Linked DNA regions of Homo sapiens: regions 1 and 3 are each linked to region 2. Evidence: promoter capture Hi-C in 16 types of primary human blood cells and fetal thymus (Javierre and others, 2016). All regions are on one chromosome and are shown on one strand. Each heading gives the region's core, a stretch centred on a gene start or on the middle of the fragment in contact. The rest is flanking DNA. Distances are from core to core; before and after follow the strand shown.

What was found. Contacts are between HindIII fragments. The CHiCAGO score rates a contact against its expected background, and 5 or more counts as called.
Region 1: a fragment that was not itself captured here is called in contact with the fragment with the promoter of CD1D in region 2 in 1 of 17 cell types (fetal thymus); the score reaches 5.4 in fetal thymus.
Region 3: a fragment that was not itself captured here is called in contact with the fragment with the promoter of CD1D in region 2 in 1 of 17 cell types (fetal thymus); the score reaches 6.1 in fetal thymus.

The regions. Positions count from the first base shown.
Region 1 is chr1:158,419,942-158,423,026 of GRCh38, forward strand. It overlaps OR10K2 (olfactory receptor family 10 subfamily K member 2), which reads right to left. Exons shown (of 2, transcript NM_001004476.2): 2 at 1-986. The coding sequence starts at 925. Among named protein-coding and RNA genes, the nearest start is that of OR10K2, 4.8 kb to the right of the region's middle. The HindIII fragment of the contact is 800 bases long and covers 1,262-2,061 here.
Region 2 is chr1:158,179,569-158,182,391 of GRCh38, forward strand. It overlaps CD1D (CD1d molecule), which reads left to right and starts at 1,327. Exons shown (of 6, transcript NM_001371762.2): 1 at 1,327-1,594; 2 at 1,887-2,153; 3 at 2,464-2,742. The coding sequence starts at 1,534. RefSeq lists a silencer at 336-385 and an enhancer at 1,798-1,857. The HindIII fragment of the contact is 7,344 bases long and covers 1-2,823 here.
Region 3 is chr1:158,403,407-158,406,409 of GRCh38, forward strand. No RefSeq gene overlaps it. Among named protein-coding and RNA genes, the nearest start is that of OR10T2, 5.4 kb to the left of the region's middle. The HindIII fragment of the contact is 5,103 bases long and covers 1-3,003 here.

The DNA of each region.
Region 1 (3,085 bases), core at 412-2,911, 240 kb after region 2:
TTGTTCTTCTCACAATTTTACAAAGAGCTGATTTGAACTCTTTATTTCTCAAGCTATAAATCATTGGGTTGAACAATGGAGTTATAATAGTGTAGGATACTGATATTAGAGCATCCTGGCTTGAGGAGTAGTTGGACTGAGGCCTTAAGTAGATAAAGGAGGCACAGCCATAGTGGACAGTGACAATAATGAGGTGAGATACACAGGTAGAAAAAGCTTTGCACCTACCCAGTGTGGAAGGAAACTGAAGTATGGCAGAGAGGATGTGAACATAGGACACCAAGATCAACAATAAGGGGATAGCCAGGACCAATGTACAGAGCATGAAGATGACAATCTGACTAAAGTGGTTATGGTGAGATGCCAGCTTGAGGACAGGAGCAATGTCACAGAAGAAGTGATGTAGTTGATTGGAGGAATAAAAAGGCAGGTGAAATACCAAGGATGTGATGATCTGTGCAACAGTGAAGCCACAGGCACAGGCAGCAGCCACTAGTCCCATACACACCCCATGTCCCATTAGCACTGAGTAGCGCAGTGGGTTACAGATGGCTATGTAACGATCATAACCCATGACTGCCAGCAGAAAGGAGTGAGAGCAGCCAAGGAAGAGGAAGGAAAACATTTGGATGGCACAGCCCAGGAAAGAAATGGTCTTCTTCTGGGACAGCAGGTCAACCAGCATCTTGGGTACAATGATGAAGGTGTAGCAAATCTCAGAGCAAGAGAGGATGGCAAGGAAGAAGTACATGGGGATATGAAGGGCCCTGTCCAGGACAATGGTGGAAATGATGATTGCATTGGTGCCCAGAGTGAACAGGTAGAGGAGCAGGAAGATAACAAAGAGCAGCTGCTGCAGCCTGGCCAGGGATGAGAAGCCGAGGAAGATGACCTCTCTCACCACAGTCTCATTGACCCGCTCCATGGAGCATACATCATCAGGAGACAATTAGGGAGAGAAGAGGAGTCAGCACCAAAAGAAATCCCTGAAAATAAGTAGATTCACAGAAAATTGATCATCAGCATGCGTTCTCAGATTTTGAATTCTGAACTCATCTTTTCTCCTCCCTCTTGTTTTTCCAAGACATGATGTTGCTAAAATCAGGCAAGCGTTCATCAAACTTTGAGTCTCCATAGTAGTTCTAACACCATAGCCAAAAAGTTCTTGATACTTTTCAGATTCAAACAACCCTTCACCTCCATTCCCATCATGAGGCTGTTGCTCAGATTCTTAGCCTTTCACTCTTAGATTATCTTGCAAAGCTTGTCTTTTTGGCTTTCTTGTATCTGTATTCTCTCAAAAAAAAAATCTTTCCTACAGTTGCAAAGTAAACCATCTGAATATACCATAGTTGTCTATAACTCAATGGTTCTTAATTGTCATTCTCGTTACACCTAAACCCCCACTCTTAGTTTTAGTCTCTCCATAACTTAGATTCAAATTCTCTTCAACACTGTTTTCCTTACCTCCTGGCAGGAATTGTCAGTTATACTTTTATTATGCTGGCTCTTGTTTCTGTAGCTTTATCCTGGTCCCAAAGTGGAAAAAAATTATCTTCTTCTTTCTATTCATTAATTTCAAGGTGGAATATGTCTACACTTTCTCTAATACCTATATCAGAGTCTTTCCTCTGGCAGGGAGGACCACAATCTTTCTTCAGGATTCTGTCCATTTTCATCACTTCCCTTAAATCCTTCTGAAGTCACATTATGGCTCCTTTCCCATGGCCACTCTTACATCTCTGCAACCCATCTTTCCCGTGATGACAGCCTAATCTTTTAAAATATAAATTGTATTATATTGCTTCACTCTTCAAAAATTTTACTTATGGCTATAGTATAGAGTTCAAACTCTTCATTGTTTCCAAAAGTCTTTCCTTTGGGGAAATAAACTATCTTTCTGTGCTCATTTTCAGACCTTAATGGGATGTATCACTATTGCCCAAATATGTTCTGGACTTCCTTGCCTCTATTCCTTGCTCATATTAGTTTGTTATTCACTTTTATTTACAGATATTTTATGGTTCTTCTGAAGCCTCCATTAAAATCTACCTTTTTGAAAGCTTTCTTGCTACCTTCTGGTGAAAGGAGTTGTTTCTTCCTCAGAACTCACATAAGACATTGATTGCCAAAATTATGTGATATTTACTTAATTTTGAAATATTCTAATGAATTGTTCTTATATCTATTTTCTCTACCAGATTTTGTACCTTTGAGGAAAATATGTGAATTTTATGTATCTTTGCCTGAGTTCTCCTCTGCATCTAGAACCATATTAAGTACTTAACACCTTCTCAATAAATAATTGTTATATAAATAAGAGAGTTAACTTGCCACATTATCTATTTTATTCATGGGCAGCACAGACTTCTTAGAACTCACAGAGTAAGAGAATTCTCAGTGTTATTTCTTTCTAGGCACAAGAATTGCTCAGTGTCAAGAATGCTAAGAATGTCTGCACCACATAAAACTAAGTCTGGCCCATTTAAATCTGAAAGAGAAATCTCTGTTTACAATAGAAAACTGGCACTGAAGAGAGCATCTGGTCATCAGAATTCTGTGTACCTAAGGTGATTCCCAATTCCTAGTACATTTGCTGCTCTGTAGAGCAAATTAGAATTCAAATAAGTGAGAGAAAAATCATAAAGATAACCTTACAATTATCCCATTAAAAGTATATTATTAAAATCACCTTAACTAATATTAATAACAAAATTAATGACAATGCATTTTTATGTTACCTAAGAACCACCAAATCAAGAATATCAGATAGTACACATGTATTAAGCAGTGTGATTATAACAATGTGTCAGCTACTAGGTCTGCAATGAAGATACACATTTAAATAAGACCCAGTCCCGAGCCTCTAGTTCATGTTTCAAGGGTGAGACCCATTCAGAAGATATTATTAAAAATGTGGTGATTGAGATGATGGATATGCATTTGAAATTATAGGAGCACTCAGGAGACATATCTTGTATACATCCTTGAAAAATGATATGTATTTTTTATTTATTTCTAGGTTTCTTTATATATGTTATGAAAAGGCTGAACTAAGTATACTTGGAGAAATATCATAACACAG
Region 2 (2,823 bases), core at 77-2,576:
ATGCTGAGAGGATGGCTTCTCAAAGCCAGTTAGTGTACAAGCAGTGGAGGTTGGGACTGCCCTACTTCTCCTGCCTAGGGTCACACAGTCTGGCAGATCTGGAAAGACTTCCCTGAGAAAGTGACCTTGGAACTGATACCTTAGTGGAAATAACTAGGCATTGGGAGGGGGTGAGGTGAGGAGAAGGTCAAGAGCTTTCATGTAGAGGGAACTTTGTGCAGAGACCTTAGTCAGGAAGAGGTTTTGCATAGTGGAGGAACTGAAAGCTAACAGCCAGGCTACAGTACAGAGCAAATGATGCTGGGGTGTGAGGTGATGTCAAAAGGTAGACACCAGGGCTAGAGGGCGCATAATCTTGCAGGCCGTGCTAATGATTTTGTTTTCTACCCAAGAATGCTACTTCAGGAGATCAGTCAAAAGGTTAGGGTGATGGTGACGGTGGAAATATAGAAAAAGGAATTTATTCAAGAGGTATTCAAAAAGAAGTGAAATAGAGATGAGTTGGAGATAGATTGGATAAAAAGAGTGAGGGAGAGGGAGGTGTCAGGCTGCAGCCCAGGTTCTGAGTTGCCAAAGAGGAGTCTTTTCCTCCAGGTGAGCTAAGGCTTAGAACCACGATTTTTGGTCACTTTTTCTTATTTTCAGTGTGAGAAGTGGCGAGTTGGCTGTCCAGGTACACACTGTCATCTTACACTTACTGTTTAAGACAGAGGCGCATATTTGGAAAGTGAATGAGTCAGGAGCCAGAGGAGAAGGTATGCCGGCAGAGCCTAGGGCGGAGAGGAGGAAGAGAGTCTGGGGGCGCGTCCCCAAAAAGGAGACAGGGAAGACAGAGCAGAGGCCGGGGAGGGGAGAGCAAGGACCATGACAGGAGGAAAGAGAGGCTAGGGAACACTGAGGTGGAGGAATCCTGGGATATGACAGTTGTAAAGAATTGTAGCCAACCTAATCCAGTTCTCTCAATGTGCAACTGAGGAAATTAATTTTCATGCGTTTACTTTATTGTAAATGTGGTACTTGCACTTGAGAAATTTTGGAAAACATAAAGATGTAAAGCAAATTAAGATCACTCATAGTCTTTCCACCTAGAGACATGTACTGCTAAAGCAAGGACTTTGATCCTTTTTTCCCTTTGCATTTTTACCATGGTTGGAATTGTAACACAGACACAACCTTATGTCCTGCTTCCAAAACATAAATAATGGTTGTAAAGCGTCCCACACGTTGACCCAAAGTCTCCTTTGAAACAGGAAATTGAGACACGCCGGTTGTGAAACCTACTGAAGTGAGCGGCGGCGCCAGGATTCCTGGGACCCCGACCTCTTTGCAGCTCGCACAGCTAAGGGCGAGGGCGCCCTTCGGCAGAAGCAGCAAACCGCCGGCAAGCCCAGCGAGGAGGGCTGCCGGGGTCTGGGCTTGGGAATTGGCTGGCACCCAGCGGAAAGGGACGTGAGCTGAGCGGCGGGGGAGAAGAGTGCGCAGGTCAGAGGGCGGCGCGCAGCGGCGCTCCGCGAGGTCCCCACGCCGGGCGATATGGGGTGCCTGCTGTTTCTGCTGCTCTGGGCGCTCCTCCAGGCTTGGGGAAGCGCTGAAGGTGGGTGGAACGAGGGCGCTTGAGTGCACTCGCGGGAGGGCGGAGAGAGGGAGCTGGGTAGGGACGGGGAGGGCAACGCCTGATGGGGACTGGTGAGACCCGGGACGCACTGGCGCGATCTAGGTAGAAAACTCGCTGCTCCCTGGCTCCGGGGAGAGGCAGCGCGGCACAGAGTTCGCTGGCATCAGCCGCCTCCTGAAGCTCATCTCCTCTTGTTTCTTTCTTCCTTCTCTTTATGCTGGCTGCTCTCCCGGCCACTTGCTACACGCCTCCAATCTTCATTCTCTCCCAGTCCCGCAAAGGCTTTTCCCCCTCCGCTGCCTCCAGATCTCGTCCTTCGCCAATAGCAGCTGGACGCGCACCGACGGCTTGGCGTGGCTGGGGGAGCTGCAGACGCACAGCTGGAGCAACGACTCGGACACCGTCCGCTCTCTGAAGCCTTGGTCCCAGGGCACGTTCAGCGACCAGCAGTGGGAGACGCTGCAGCATATATTTCGGGTTTATCGAAGCAGCTTCACCAGGGACGTGAAGGAATTCGCCAAAATGCTACGCTTATCCTGTGAGCTGAGGGATAGGATCCTGGGCCGGTACCCAAGGGGAGAGAATGGCCACAGAAACTCAACTGGGAGACTGTGGCACCACCTGATGAGATTCTCTGCTCTGTCCACCCTCTTCTGATTTCCCTTCTACCTGGAGATGTCCCAGGCTTTGACTCCTCAAAGTGTCCCTCGTTCCTGCCTACTCCAGGTCACTTACTTTCCTTTCCCTGAAGTCTGGGTCCCCATTATAACCTGCACATCAATTTCTTCTCTTTCATCTCTCCCAGTCTTTTAAACCCTTCTTTGATCTTTCTCCATTCCTCTCCACAGATCCCTTGGAGCTCCAGGTGTCCGCTGGCTGTGAGGTGCACCCTGGGAACGCCTCAAATAACTTCTTCCATGTAGCATTTCAAGGAAAAGATATCCTGAGTTTCCAAGGAACTTCTTGGGAGCCAACCCAAGAGGCCCCACTTTGGGTAAACTTGGCCATTCAAGTGCTCAACCAGGACAAGTGGACGAGGGAAACAGTGCAGTGGCTCCTTAATGGCACCTGCCCCCAATTTGTCAGTGGCCTCCTTGAGTCAGGGAAGTCGGAACTGAAGAAGCAAGGTCAGCCTGCCTTCCTTACTCCCTGCATTCCACTTCAGGGCTCCAAACGGGCTTTTCCATTCCAGGGTTCTCATCCCTTTG
Region 3 (3,003 bases), core at 425-2,924, 220 kb after region 2:
CGAGGAACCATTCATTGAGTACCATGATTTAGAGAGCAGGATATGAGACATTATAGTGATACAAAGATAAAATGTATGAATTGATCTGCTCTAGTAGAGAAGACAGATGTAAGCAGAGCTATGTGTAATAAGAGGTAAAATGATGTTCAGTGTTATTGTGACATTAACAACAGGGCAGCTACAAGGATGAGCACCCCCAGCAGGGATTGCCTTGACCACAGCCAGGGCCGAGATTCAGCAAATGACTTCATGAATAAAAACATTCTGGAATAATAAGCCAAGTAGAAATATAAGAATTAGGAATAAAAAGTCAATACTGAATGTTTTGTGCCTAGGACACTCAAAGGAAAAAGGAGTGAGGAGGAAGACTGAGAACTATTTCTTGTAGTGGCTTGGCTGGTCACATGAGAAAACTTTCTGAAAACAAAATTGCTGGGAAAAATTTTAAAAAATTTTAGAAACCTATTGACAAGTTGAAGGTATAGTAGGAATTTTTAGGCCAAAATCTGAAGAAAATAAAATCCACAGAGGAACACTGGAAATTGCTTCTATTCTGAGGACATTTATTTACCTGTATGAAATTACAAACTCAAGCTGTTGATTTGAGAGAATCACAGGATGAGGCTGACAGAAATTAAAGACCAGAATCTAACAAATGGGGGAGTCAAAAATTAGATATTAAAGAGATTTTCTAGTTCCCATATTTGATGCTTTGACATCTGGACCTTCCTGACCAGGAAAAAAGCAGCCCTCCTAGGGTTAGCAGATTCATAGAGATAGAAAATGAATTTAATTTCATGTGCAGTCAAACACATCCAGAAGTCATACCCACAATTGCCTATTTTTGCATGCTCTTGGACTGAGGGACACTACTTCCTTTTCCTAATCCCCCTGGGGCCAGGTGTCAGACAACTAAGGATAGTCCTGGAACCCAGTGAAACTGTTTAAACTATCCAATTCTAAACCTGCTCAAAACCACTTACCCTGCTTTGCCTCAAAACCACTCTGAAGACTCTCCAAAACTTCCCTTTGCTTTCTGCCTACAACTGAACTTTGTGCTCTGGTGTTCTCCCCATGGCACTTCATGTGTGGCGTGATATGCCACCTTCCCACTCAGGCACTCAGGAACTCTAAGTAATCAACTATCTTTCAATGGCAGTCATCTCTCTATCTGCTGGTCTTACCCTATCTGAATAAAAATAAAGTCAACATTTTAAAACATATTGAAGGAGAGGAACAAAGTTGAAGAACTGACACTATCTGACCTCAAGACTTACTGCAAAGCTACAGTAATCAAGACAGTGTGGTATTGGTGAAAGAACAGATAAATAGAAAAATAAATGGGCTATCAAGCCATGAAAAGTCATTGAGGAACCTTAAATGTGTATTGCTAAGTGGAAAAGAGCTGTCTGAAAAGCCTATATACTATGTGGTCCCAACTACATGACATTCTGGAAAAAGCAACACTATTGAAATAATAAAATGACCACTGGTGTTTTCCAAGGATTCAGAGAAGGAGGGGAGGGAAAAATAAATGGGGCCCAAGGCATTTTTAGGACAGTGAAACTATTCTGTATAATACTCTAATTGTGACTATGACATTTTGCAGTTCTGAAAATATGTAGCATGAACCCAAATGTAAAATATATGGACTTAGGTTAATAATAATGTGTCAACATTGGTTTAATAAATAAAAAATGTACAGCAATAATTCAGAATGTTAATAATAAGAAAAACTGTGCAGGAGAGGGAGGCCACAACGGAATTTGATATTTTCTGTGTATTTTTTCTGTGAACCTAAATATGCTCTAAAAATAAAGTCTACTGAAGAAAAACAAAAAGAAAATAAGATTCTCATAGACATGATATGTAGAGATACAGGCCAAGCACAGTATGATTCAATTTATATAATGATCAAGGAAAGGTCACAATGATGGTGGTGGAAGTCAGGATAGAAGTTATATTTATAAATGCAATACCTGAGAGGCAGTACAATGGAACCCTACAGTGTTCTCATAATATTTAATTTATTTATTAGATATGTTCAATTTGTAACACTTTCATCAAGCTAAACCCTTATGATTTACGTCCCATTTAGTGTATATATTATGTTTTAAGATATTTACTTTAGTTAAAGTATACTAATTAGAGTTTCTCTTTGGGGAATAGTGAGCTAGAAATTTTTAGTCAGCCCACAGACTAGTAATCACTAGAAAAACTACAAAAATATTGGAAAAAAATCAGATCGAAGGCATCAGACTTTAACAAAGAATTAGTATTCAGGAAAAGCAACTAACCTGTGATGTTGTCCTGGTATTTGGGAGTAATTAGCTCCCAAGGAGAATCTGACAATTCCGGAAGATATTACCAAAAAGTCAAGAAGTTGAGACACACCGAGGTAAAGAGCAAATATATAGATCATGAACCACTGAGGAGTGATGGGGCTGGTGAACTTCCTGAACTTTGAATTGACATTTAAAAGGGAATATAATAGGAACAAGATTAAACAAGAAAAAAATCAACTTTCACAGGAGCCAAATTCAGTTTCAAACAGCCTTAAACCCTGGTAAACTTGAGCCAAGACTCCATTTAATACTCTAGCTCCATAAGTCCCTACTCTGAAAAGTAGATCATAGCAGCATTTTGGGTCTCTTGGGATCTGAACAGGTTAATAGACAGTATATCTTATGATCCCTAGAAGGCCTGGGTATTTTTCTTTATCCAGTACACAGATACCTTAGTAGATGGCAAAGTTCTCTAGGGAAATATTGGAACAAGATTCTCAGGATATAATTGTGGCCATGCTGTTGTGTCTTTCCTCAAAATTCCCCATCTACCCTCACAATCAAGGGGTTTTGGGTTTGGGAATTGGTGTTGAATTGGCAATTGGGTGCAAAGACATGAATTAAAACACTATAACTTACTTTTATCTGTTTGTCAGACATGAAATAAATGTCAAACATCACTTTAGTTGTCTGCTCATCTGCTTCATTGCTAGAAATC